Regions from separate parts of the Homo sapiens genome. Here region 1 is linked to region 2. The links are contacts of gene promoters, found by promoter capture Hi-C in blood cells and fetal thymus (Javierre and others, 2016). All regions are on one chromosome and are shown on one strand. The core of a region is centred on a gene start or on the middle of the fragment in contact, and the rest is flanking DNA. Distances in the headings are between cores, read along the strand shown.

Evidence for each region. Contacts are between HindIII fragments. The CHiCAGO score rates a contact against its expected background, and 5 or more counts as called.
Region 1: a contact is called between a fragment that was not itself captured here and the fragment with the promoter of CRTAM in region 2, in 2 of 17 cell types (naive CD8 T cells and total CD8 T cells). The highest score is 6.9, in naive CD8 T cells.

What each region holds. Positions count from the first base shown.
Region 1 is chr11:122,785,892-122,791,662 of GRCh38, forward strand. UBASH3B (ubiquitin associated and SH3 domain containing B) reads left to right here. Exons shown (of 14, transcript NM_032873.5): 6 at 3,209-3,417. Among named protein-coding and RNA genes, the nearest start is that of CRTAM, 50 kb to the right of the region's middle. The HindIII fragment of the contact is 4,369 bases long and covers 2,006-5,771 here.
Region 2 is chr11:122,835,859-122,841,458 of GRCh38, forward strand. It overlaps CRTAM (cytotoxic and regulatory T cell molecule), which reads left to right and starts at 2,642. Exons shown (of 10, transcript NM_019604.4): 1 at 2,642-2,734. The coding sequence starts at 2,689. The HindIII fragment of the contact is 4,925 bases long and covers 1-2,999 here.

The sequences.
Region 1 (5,771 bases), core at 2,940-5,439, 48 kb before region 2:
GTGAGAATAAAAAGGGCTCCAAAGGCAGTTCGGCTCTTGTATTCACTCAGGGCTGTGGCTGCATTTCATTCAGCAAACTGAGTTCCATCCCATTGTAGTAAGGAGGAAAAACATACCTGAGGTGGATTCAAGAGGTTTTTTGTTTTTGTTTTTGTTTTTTGTTTTTTGTTTTTGTTGAGACGGAGTCTTACTCTGTCGCCCAGGCTGGAGTGCAGTGGTGCAATCTCGGCTCACTGCAACTTCCGCCTCCTGGGTTCACGCCGTTCTCCTGCCTCAGCCTCCCAAGTAGCTGGGACTACAGGCACCTGCCACCACGCCTGGCTAATTTTTTGTATTTTTAGTAGAGACAGGGTTTCACCATGTTAGCCAGGATGGTCTCGATCTCCTAACCTCATGATCCGCCTATCTCGGCCTCCCAAAGTGCTGGAATTACAGGTGTGAGCCACAGTGCCGGTCCTGGATTCAAGAGTTCTTATGAGTACAGGCCAGGCACAGTGGCTCACGCCTGTAATCCCAGCACTTTAGGAGGCCGAGGCAGGCAGATCACCTGAGGTGAGGAGTTCGAAACCAGCCTGGCCAACACAGTGAAACCTCGTCTCTACTAAAAATACAAAAATTAGCCAGGTTTGGTGGTACACACCTGTAGTCCCAGCTACTCGGGAGGCTGAGACAGGAGAATCTCTTGAATCCGGGAGGCAGAGGTTGCAGTGAGCCAAGATGATGCCACTGCACTCCAGCCTGGGCGACAGAGCGAGACTCCGTCTCACACAAAAAAAAGAGTTCTTACAAGTAGATGGCAAACATAAAACAAAAGAATAAGTAGAATGTAATATAAATTAGGCATGTGTTCTCACATCTTTCAAACTTAGGCTAAGGTTTTGTATCTGCTTTTGGTGAGTGAGAAAGGGCATTGGGGACATGGGTCCCAGTTGTAATTTTAGATTTGCTACAATGCCTTAATTCTTTTATTGTTCATTCAATAAATCGAAGCTACTTATTGTCCAGCTTCCCTATGCCTAGGACATATTTGTCTGTAACCTTAGCTGTGCCTCAGTTTTCCTGGGGATAACCTAGAGATAGAATGAATACCCACCCCCGCTCCCCCCCCACCGCCCCACATGATAGAACAAATGAGGACTTCTCTGAAATCGCATGAGTTTCTCAAGGGAAAGGCACTACTGGGCCAAAGGCATTATTAGCCAAGACCATGCTGTGCTTGAACATTTAAGGAACACAAGTTTAGGCTTGTTTCCCTGTGACTCGGTGACTTTCTCCACTTGTCCCAGAAAAAAAAGAATGTTCCTTTTCATGGGACGTCACACATTTAGCTTTGCAGTTTATGAGATTTCGCGTGAATTGTTTTTCCCTTTAAGCTGATTTAACAATCCCACAGAAAACCTTCCTGGCTTGTTTGGGGAGGTGGTTTGAGTGTGTATGAGGCAAAGGGACAGGAAGAATAAGGAGGCAATCAGAGCAGGGAAGACCTAGAACTGAAAGATGCTGAAGTCAGAATTAGGGAAACAAACAGGTGCCCTACATAAAAGGAAAATCGGAAATGCAGCGGTGCAAATGAGCTCTCTGCACAATCACTCTCATCCTCTGAAAAGAATCACACCTTTACTGGCTCCTTTCTTTAGCGATTTCCAGAAGGAAATTCTCTCTTTATAACATGTTCTGGTGTATCACCTTGACATCAACCAGCCAATTAGTTCACAGGCCTACCCAGCACAGAGTCCAGGGATCAGGGTCGGCTGGAAGGAAGGATGTGACGTGGGAGATCAGGTGCTCTGGTTCTGTAGAAATAATTATGCCCCTTCGGTGCACAAGGCTCTGTCCTAAGGTGTTTTCTTAGATTGTCTCATTTAACTTTTATGGGCTTAAGTATTATTTTATAGATGAGGAAACTGAAGCCTGAAGCCAAAGTTAGAAATATGCAAATGGAGACCAGAATATTTAGCCTTCAACTAACGGCTTTGAGACCCTAGAAAACAGTAAAAGCTGTTAAAGCTTTCTCCGTCTTTGTGTCCCTTGTGAAACAAATAAGATAGGAAATATTTTCCTTACTATTGAGGTCTCCCACTATTAGTAACAAAAAATACTAAAATAAATGTTCTCTACAGTACCTTCATGCCTATACCTGTGATGTTAATACATACCAGGAAACGAAGGCAAAAAGAAATAAAGAATAAATAGCCAACTGGCATGGCCTGTTTTTGGCCTGGGGGCTGTTTCGGAGCCCAAAGTAAGAACGTTTTCTCCATCTGATGAAAGCTGGCTACATGCTGACATAGACACTGATGTCTAGACATTTTTCTTTCAGGATCTTTGTTAAAACTATAGGTTTAAAGAAAACTCCTTTAAGGCAAGAACCATGTCTGGTTTAAAGAGCTAAGTTGGCCGGGCATGGTGACTCACACCTGTAATCTCAGCACTTTGGGAGGCCAAGAGAGGGGAATCACCTGAGGTCAGGAGTTCGAGACCAGCCTGGCCAACATGGTGAAACCCTGTCTCTACTAAAAATACAAAAATTAGCCAGGTGTGGTGGCGGCCGCCTGAAATCCTAGCTACCAGGGAGGCTGAGGCAAGAGAATCACTTGAACCCAGGAGGCAGAGGCTACAGTGTGCTGAGATCATGCCATTGCACTCCAGCCTGGGCAACAAGAGTGAAACTCTATCTCAAAATAATAATAATAATAATTCATAAATAAAGAGCTATGTTACACAGAAAGGGGGTACTTCATTCCCTGAGCCTTCCTGGAGGAGAGACACTCCACCTGGCCCCTCTGTAACCCCCGTATGGAAGACTGGCTTTCCATGAGCTGGGTTTCAGGTGTCTATCATGGTGACTATCAGATGAAGCAAGGGAAGCTAGGTCCATGTCCATTTATACAGCAGTTGGCCAGAGAGCCTACAGGATTTCAGGTCAATTTCCAAAAACGATACTTGAATCCTGATGGGAAATCTAGACATGCCTGAAGAAAAGTATGAAACCATTTCTAGCACCAGGCATACACCGTCAATACCCTGAAGAGAGAAGTGCTCTCTGATAGGAATTCACATCTACTCAGGGCCTGCAGACCCCAAGGGCTCCTGGGCACATCGCCCTCTGGAGGTGTGCAGTATTAATGCAGAACATACAGTCCTGCCCTCAAGGCGCTCAGGAGAATGGTGAGGCATGGGGCTCACTCACCCTCTCTTCCTTTTCCAGACATTACAGGTCATCTACCCCTATACCCCACAAAATGACGATGAGCTGGAGCTGGTCCCCGGGGACTTCATCTTCATGTCTCCAATGGAGCAGACCAGCACCAGCGAGGGTTGGATCTATGGCACGTCCTTAACCACCGGCTGCTCTGGACTCCTGCCTGAGAATTACATTACCAAGGCTGATGAATGCAGCACCTGGATATTTCATGGGTAAGCAGACACAAAGACCTTTATGCCATTTGAAGAATGTTGCTAAGGCAGACTGGATCCTGGATACACAGGGCAGCAGTAAATGGAGTCCATGGGAAGAAGGCCCTGTGGATTCCAGAATTCCAGGAAAGGAGCTGATTTGAGGCATGGGGAAAATGCGAAATGGATTGCTCTGCTTCCCTCTGCCTGCCCCATTTGCCATGGTTGTCTGCTTCAGTTCCTGATCAGAGACTAAACTGAGGTGGCTTGGGGTCCATCTCTTCTGGCCGAAGAGTGGCATCATCCCAGTGCTGCGTCTTCACTGCTTTAGGGCTTCTGTCCACCTTATCCTGGGTCATGAGTCAGGGTGGTCTGATTTCCCGAAGCAGCTGGGCGGATTACTACCCTGCCATCCAGACCAATAGAGAAGGGGGTTTCAAGAGGCAGGAGCCCTAACTGTATCCTTGATTTGCTAAGTGACCCTGAGCAAGTCCCCAGACACAGCCTATGCATGCCTAGACAACAAAGACCATGTCTAAGGGAACAGGCAACTGCCAGACTGAAAAGGGGTCCATTTCCCCCCTCCCCTCTGCCAGTCTTCTTTAGGGTAATAACTTTCCACCCGTCCCTCATTACTATTTTGCCCCCATTCCATACTGGTACCACATTCAGTGGCCAACTTTGTCCCAATAGATAAAATAGAAACAAAAGCCATCTTCTCTTTCTTAGTTGGAGCAGCTCAAAGCCAGCGCTTCCCTGGCACACTGGGGCATCTAGCCAGGGTCTGCATGCTGGTTTGTTTTTCTCCCACTTGTTTTTGTCATGTGGCAACATGGCTGAGAGGCAGAAGCCCTGAGCGCCAGCTGCTTGGTGGCTAATATTGTTATTATTGCCATAAAGGAGAAGCAGAGAGAGATGATTTCATCAAGTCTTTTGCCTGGAAGGAGAAAATAAAGGTCCCCTACCCTAGTGAGCCACAAACAGACAAACCACAAATCCAAAGATGGGAAAGAATATTTTCTTCCTCAATAACCCCACCCAGCAATCCCTCCCCCTCTCCCTCACTCTGCTCCCACCTCAGCCCAGCCCATGAGCCTCCAGAATTGGATGGCACAAAATTAGAGGTCAAAGCTGTCTTATGTTCCCCAAACATTTTGCTTTTTCAGAAATGCTTTGGAAGATCAAAATATATAAGCTGGGTTTCCAAAGTCTCCATTTTAATCCCTACAACAACAAGTAAAGCAAAATATGCGTGAATAAACTGAGAACTAAAACATTATTTGCCTGACAAAGCACAGTTCTCAGATCTGTTATTTTTTATTTTACAGTACTTGGAGTTGCTGTTTTATCAGATCTCTTTCTTAAAAGTGGGTGTATGGCCAGGTGCGGTGGCTCACACCTGTAATCCCAGCACTTTGGGAGGCCAGGGTGGGTGGATCACTTGAGGTCAGGAGTTCAAGACCTGCCAAACCAACATGGTGAAACCGCGTCTCTACCAAAAATAAAAAAAAAAATCAGCTGGGCGTGGTGGCATACACCTGTAGTCCCAGCTACTCAGGAGGCTGAGGCAGGAGAATCACTTGAACCTAGGAGGTGGAGGTTGCAGTGAGCTGAGATCACGCAACTGCACTCCAGCCTGGGCAACAGAGCAAGACTTTGTCTGAAAAAAAAAAAAAAGTGGAGGTATATGAGAAGCAGTGCTGATCTCTTAGAGTTCACTCCATCCAAACCCACTCTTCCCTAAATTACAACTCAGGCCGATGTATAGGTGAACCTGAGTGACTTCGGTCAGTGCGTCCCAGGGAGGTCTTTGTGTCATCTTTTATTCGAGAGATTACTAATGATGTCATGTCTCTGAGAACAATGTCTGAAATTAAACTAACAGCTTCCACAGCCAACCCTGCTCAAAGTAGGTAAATAAGTTAGGCATTAGTTTATTGTGATTAAGAATTTGAGACTGGATTCCAATAGTCTTGGATTTAAACGATAACTCTCCCACTTACCAGCTGTGTGGCCTTGGCAAAGTTGCATTACCTCTCTGAGCCTCTGTTTGCTCATCTAGAAAATGGAACTAATAATTGCACTTACCTCATAAGGTTGTTGGGAAGACTGCAATACAGAGCTTAGCTTTACATGGTTCAGAGTCTGGTGTATAGCGGTGACTATAAAATCGCCATTTGCATAATGATGATTATTCTCTTTTTTCTATCTTGTGTTTGCCAGTCCTCACTTAGTGCTCATCAAAGGAAATGTGTCTTCCATAAAAGCAATCCTGTAGATGAACTGCACTTTCCTATTTAACCCCAGAGGTCAAATGACTCAAGGAGGCAGAGCCCAGCTTCCTTGTAAGACAGACACAGACCTTCTCTCTCTCC
Region 2 (5,600 bases), core at 1,392-3,891:
CATAAAACGGAGACCAAAATGACAAACTAGCTATCAGTTGTGAGGTCTCCCACATACTGTTCAGTAGACTCTTTCCCATTAGAAAATAGGTAGACCACTTATTACCTTCCAACCTCGTCTTTTTCTCCCAATTCACTGAGCAGCCACAATCTGCTGCCCTCTCCTGTTGAATACTACATGAGCTGCAGGCTGAAGTGGGGGTAATGAGAACAGGGACCCTGGAAAGCACACATGTATGTCGTCCACCAGTTCACCTTGTAGCATTTCCCCCACCAACCGTTCTTAATGTCCAAGTCCAGTGGACTATTGTGACATTTGTCAAGGTTTTCAACCAGTTGAATATGGCACCCGTGGATGAAAAGGATACACTCTCCATCGTCCAAAGTGCAATTTAAAGTAAGCTCTTCTTTAATGCTCTGGGGAAATTGTAAGTCAAACATCTTTTTAGACTTCAGAGCAAAAAGAGTAGCATTTACATCTCAAATAAAGAGTCAATTTAGTCTTTCATTCACTCGTTGACAACCTATGTCAAGTGTTGTTGTGGGTCAGGTTCCTGGGAAACAGAAGCTGATACAGAGATCCGTGTGCAGAAGTTTATAGATGAGTACTCTTGGTGACAAGAAGGAAGCAAGTTGGAGAATCGGTAGAAGCTGGACTGAGGTGCAGTTACAACAAAGATCTCAGCTGATCCTGATCCCTTGGGGAGCTTCAGAGTTGCTCCACCTCAAGGCAAGGGAAAAGGACCTTGAGACCCCCTCATGGATGCCCTATGGAGGAAGAGTGACCCTGGGTAAACTGTTCTCTTCTACTGAGGACAAGTATAAAAATTAGAAGTTCCTGGATGGAATATTATGAGCAAAAGGGAAAAAATTAAAAAATGAAAAATTTGAAAGACAAAATATTGTGTTTTGGAGGATTTTTTATTTTTATTTTTTTAAGACAGGGTGTCACTTTGTCACCCAGATTGCAGTACAGTAGTGTGATCACGGCTCACCGCAGCCTCAACCTCCTGCATTCAAGCAACCCTTCCACCTCAGCCTCCCAAGTATCTGGGACTACAGGCATGCACCACCATGCTCAGCTAATTTTTGTATTTTTTGTAGAGATGGGGGTCTCACTATGTTGCCCAGGTTGGTCTTGAACTCCTGGCTTCAGATGATCCTCACACCTCAGCCTCCCAAAATGCTAAGATTACAGGCATGAGCCACTGTGCCCAGCCAACAAAATATTTGGAAGACATTTTTGATGAGTAAGACTTTTCCTACCCAAACTTCATCAAATTTATCAGAGTATTAACACTAATTTCAATTAGAGCCAGTAAGTAGTGTTTCCTTTTCATTTTCCAAGCATTGCAGACTGATCTCTGTTTTCTAAACATAAACTTACTAATATTTTACTGTGTGCTCCTGGAAAAACTACATTAAATCTATCTCAATTTGTCCAATTAATGAAAATTAAATACCAGAACTGTTCATATGTACATTGTCTCCCCCACTAGATTATATTCTCCTGAAAAACAAGGAATTTATGTTTTTTATTTGAGCATGTCTCAAAGTAGTGCATACTAGATGCTGTACAGGTGACAAGATGAATGGGTGGATAGAAGGATGGATGGATGGATGGATGGATGGATGGATGGACGGACGGACATATGTATAGATAGATGGGTGGGTAAATGGATGAATGAGTGGGTGAATGGATGAATGCGTGGGTGGATAGATAGATGGGTGGTTGGGTGGATGGATGAGTATTTGCATGTATAGATAGATGGGTGGGTGAATGAATAGGTCATGGACGGATGGATGGATGGATAGATGGATGGGTGAATGGATGGATGGGTGGATAAATGGATGGATGGATGGATGGATGGATGGATGGATGGATGGATGGATGGATGGATAGATGGATAGATGGATGGATAAATAGATGGATGGCTGGCTGGCTGGATGGATGGAGAGATGGATGGATGTGTGGATGAATAGATGGATGGATGGGTGGATGGGGAATGAGTGGGCAGGTAATACATGAGTGAGTGGGTGGATGGAAGGATAAATGGATGGGTGGATGGATGTGTGGGTGGATGGATGGAAGGATGGATGGATGGATAGGTGGATGAATAGATTTGTATTTGTGAGTGGGTGGATGAAAAGATGGGTGGATGGGTGGGTGGACAGATATATAGATTTCAAAAATGAGTATATCTATATGAATGAATGAATTCCTCCCCGACAACAATTATAAATTGATGTCAGCATAGAAATAAAATATTCCCAAAGGTTGAGCAAAAATTATCTAATTGTATTTATCTAATAAACTAGAAAAGTAAAAATAAGGATGACGTCACTACACAGGGACATTTTACAGTATTTCTCCCACCCATGCTCCCTCTAAAAACCTTGCAACTAGTTGATTTACCAGTACTACCCACTTGTGGTAAAACAATTTTTGTCACCAACACATCACTCACACCTCTCTGCCATCAAGATAATACATGTGGTCCCCAAAATGTTCCACCAGGAGGTGTTCTGGGGGCAGCTAACTAAGAGGGGGCTTCCAGACAGATGGAGGAGTTGATACACATGAGGTCACAGATCTACTGCCTCTCCCCCTTTAAAAGAAACTACTCAGCTCCATTTGTCTCAGAATCTAGAGGAAGTTGACAAAGGTGCCACAGCAGCACAGCACAGTATGTGGTGGAGAGTTCTCAGCTTGCTGGCATGGTTCCCCTTGCAAGGTAAGGACTTAGAGTTATTTTTGTTGTTGCTCAGCTGACTTAATGTTTTGCCACATCTACCTATCAGTCAGTCAACTGCATTTACAGAGGAGCTGCTGTAGAAGACAACCCAGGTAACTGCTAATACTTTCCAAGCCATGCTCAAATCATGCATCTGAGGGATGTTACTGCGTTTATTTGATCTCTCGTTCAATGGCTAAGGAGTATAGAAAGGATCATTATAGTGTGTGTCTCTGTGGGTCCTATGTTACGGCAAGATGAAACAAGCTTATTAGGCTCTGTCTTTTAAGGGCATACCAGTTGAAAGAGCATCCGTATTGAATTTTATTTTATTTTATTTATTTATTTATTTATGAGACACAGTCTCGCTCTGTCGCCCAGGCTGGAGTGCAGCGGCACGACCTCGGCTCACTGCAAGCTCCGCCTCCCGGGTTCACGCCTTTCTCCTGCCTCAGCCTCCCAAGTAGCTGGGACTACAGGTGCCCGCCACCACCACGCCCGGCTAATTTTTTTATATTTTTAGTAGAGACGGGGTTTCACCGTGTTAGCCAGGATGGTCTCAATCTCCTGACCTCGTGATCTGCCCACCTCAGCCTCCCAAAGTGCTGGGATTACAGGCGTAAGCCACCGCGCCCGGCCTCCACGTTGAATTTTAAAATTTCCTTGCTGTATAAATCTTAGCCAAACGATTTAATCTCTTTGAAACTCAGTTTCTGCATCTTAAAATGAAAATGATAAAAACTTTTGATCCACCAAACTCCCTGGATTGTTAGAAGGATCAAATTTCAAATGTGAAAGCACTTTGAAAATGATAAAGCGCTGTGCAACACTTATTTAGCTCAGAGGTAATAATGAGACCAATGAAAACTTCGTGTTTATTTTTAAAGAGTAAGTTATACTTTACATTTTACTATAATTTTCAAATTTGGATTTTAGTGCTTAATCCTAATGTAGCATTATGAAAATTAAGGATAGAAGCAGTTACCTTTTTGGAGCAGGTCAAATTATTTTCTACCCAAAAGTGGGGGCAGGGGTGTAGGAAGTGGCTCCTGTTGTCCCTCAGTCTCTGCTTACAATTGTATCAGATTCATGCAAAGGACATCCCTCACAAATCCACTCAAAAATTTTGCTTTTTGTGTGTTTGTTACCAAATATTGAAACTGTAGTTCTGTTTCATGAAATGCACCTATCCTTCTAAATCTACATTTAATCTGGAATGGCATCTGAAGGACGCTACTTTAAAAAACTCGATTTCCTATTTTACATAGTACTTCAATTCCCTATTTTATATACTTCAATTAATGCCTTCTTTTTTTGGTCCCTGTACCCTGAGGCACTTAATAAGGATTCAATTTTGGTAATGAATAATATTAGTTTCTTCATTAAGTGGCTTAAAGAATAGCTAATACATTCAAAAAGAGTACATTTAGACAGCTAAAATTAGGATGATTTCAATTTTTCCAGAGTTTAAAGCCTTTCACTGACCTTAACTTTTTCAGGCTTTGAGTTATTGCCTCATAAAAAATAACTCATAAAAATACATTTTTTAAATAAATAGCAAAAATTATGTTTCAAGGTAAACCTAAATTACTTAAATATTATTTATATAGAGAGGAAAAATATTGTTTCATGCACAGTGCTGAGTACTTTGTGTTAATTACACTTAATCATAGCGGAAGTACTGAGGTAGGTACTAATATCCCCAATTTAAAGATGAGAAAAGAAGTTATGTAACCTGCCCAAGTTTTAAAGCTAGAATATGACAACATAAATACCAGCCTATAAAGCACATAGTAAAAGTATTTATTTCATGAAACTTCTAATTAACGTGTGTGTGTGTGTGTGTGTACTAGTTGTGACAGAAAATGTATTAATGTGGATCAAAAGTTGGAAAACCACTGACTTTCACAATTTGGAGGATTCAATATTAAAAAGTCCTATTTGAAAACTCGTTCAAGGGGCCACCCGAGGGCATCTAAGCTCAATGGCATTTGAGCAGTGGCTGCCACCCCTGACCTAACCTTGCTCAAGCCCATCCCAGACGTAATTAGGAGGAGGTGACCATGTTGCTTTCTTGTCAGCAAAAAAGGCAGCAAATCATCAGTTTTGGCAAAGCTATAAACTGTCAGCTGATTTTAGCAAATTAAATTATGGGAAGATCACTGTGACTACTTCTACAGTGTTACTTCTATGGCTGCCAAAAATTTATGGAAAAAAAAAAAGTCACGTAATCTCAGAGCCTGCCCTCTTTTCAAGGCCACTCCCAGAATAAATAGTCTTAGGACTGGTAAAAACACAATAAAAATGAAGCATTTTTCAAAATTCATCCCATTAAATTACACTGTAGACAATGAAAATGTCAAATCCAATGAATTTTGAACCCTCTGTTTTCATTGTTTTGTGGAGGGTAGGATGCAGAAAACAAAGGAAAATTGCAAATTGAGTAGTTCTTTTCATACTTTCTTTGCCCAGGAAAAAGTCACATGTTAGATGACATGTTGAGACAGCTTCTTTAAAATGTACTAAAAATATTCCGATTCTGACAAGTCTGATTTATTTTTATACCTGCAATTTTCTCTATTGATTCAATCTAAAAATAATAAAAATCTTTTTTTGTAATGATCTGAATTAAAACACACTTTTGCTTAATGCCTCATGACAGTCATGTAACTAGGGCTCTGATTTGAGAATTAATGCATTGCATGTCTCTGGCTTTAACTTAGCCCTAGTCTTTATTATTTGATATAACAGTTAAAGAGCAAAGTTAGCATCCTATTATAATATTTATTCCTAAATATATACTTTTACTCTATTTTTTTTTTTTTTGAGACAGAGTCTTGCTCCGTCGCCCAGGCTGGAGTGCAGT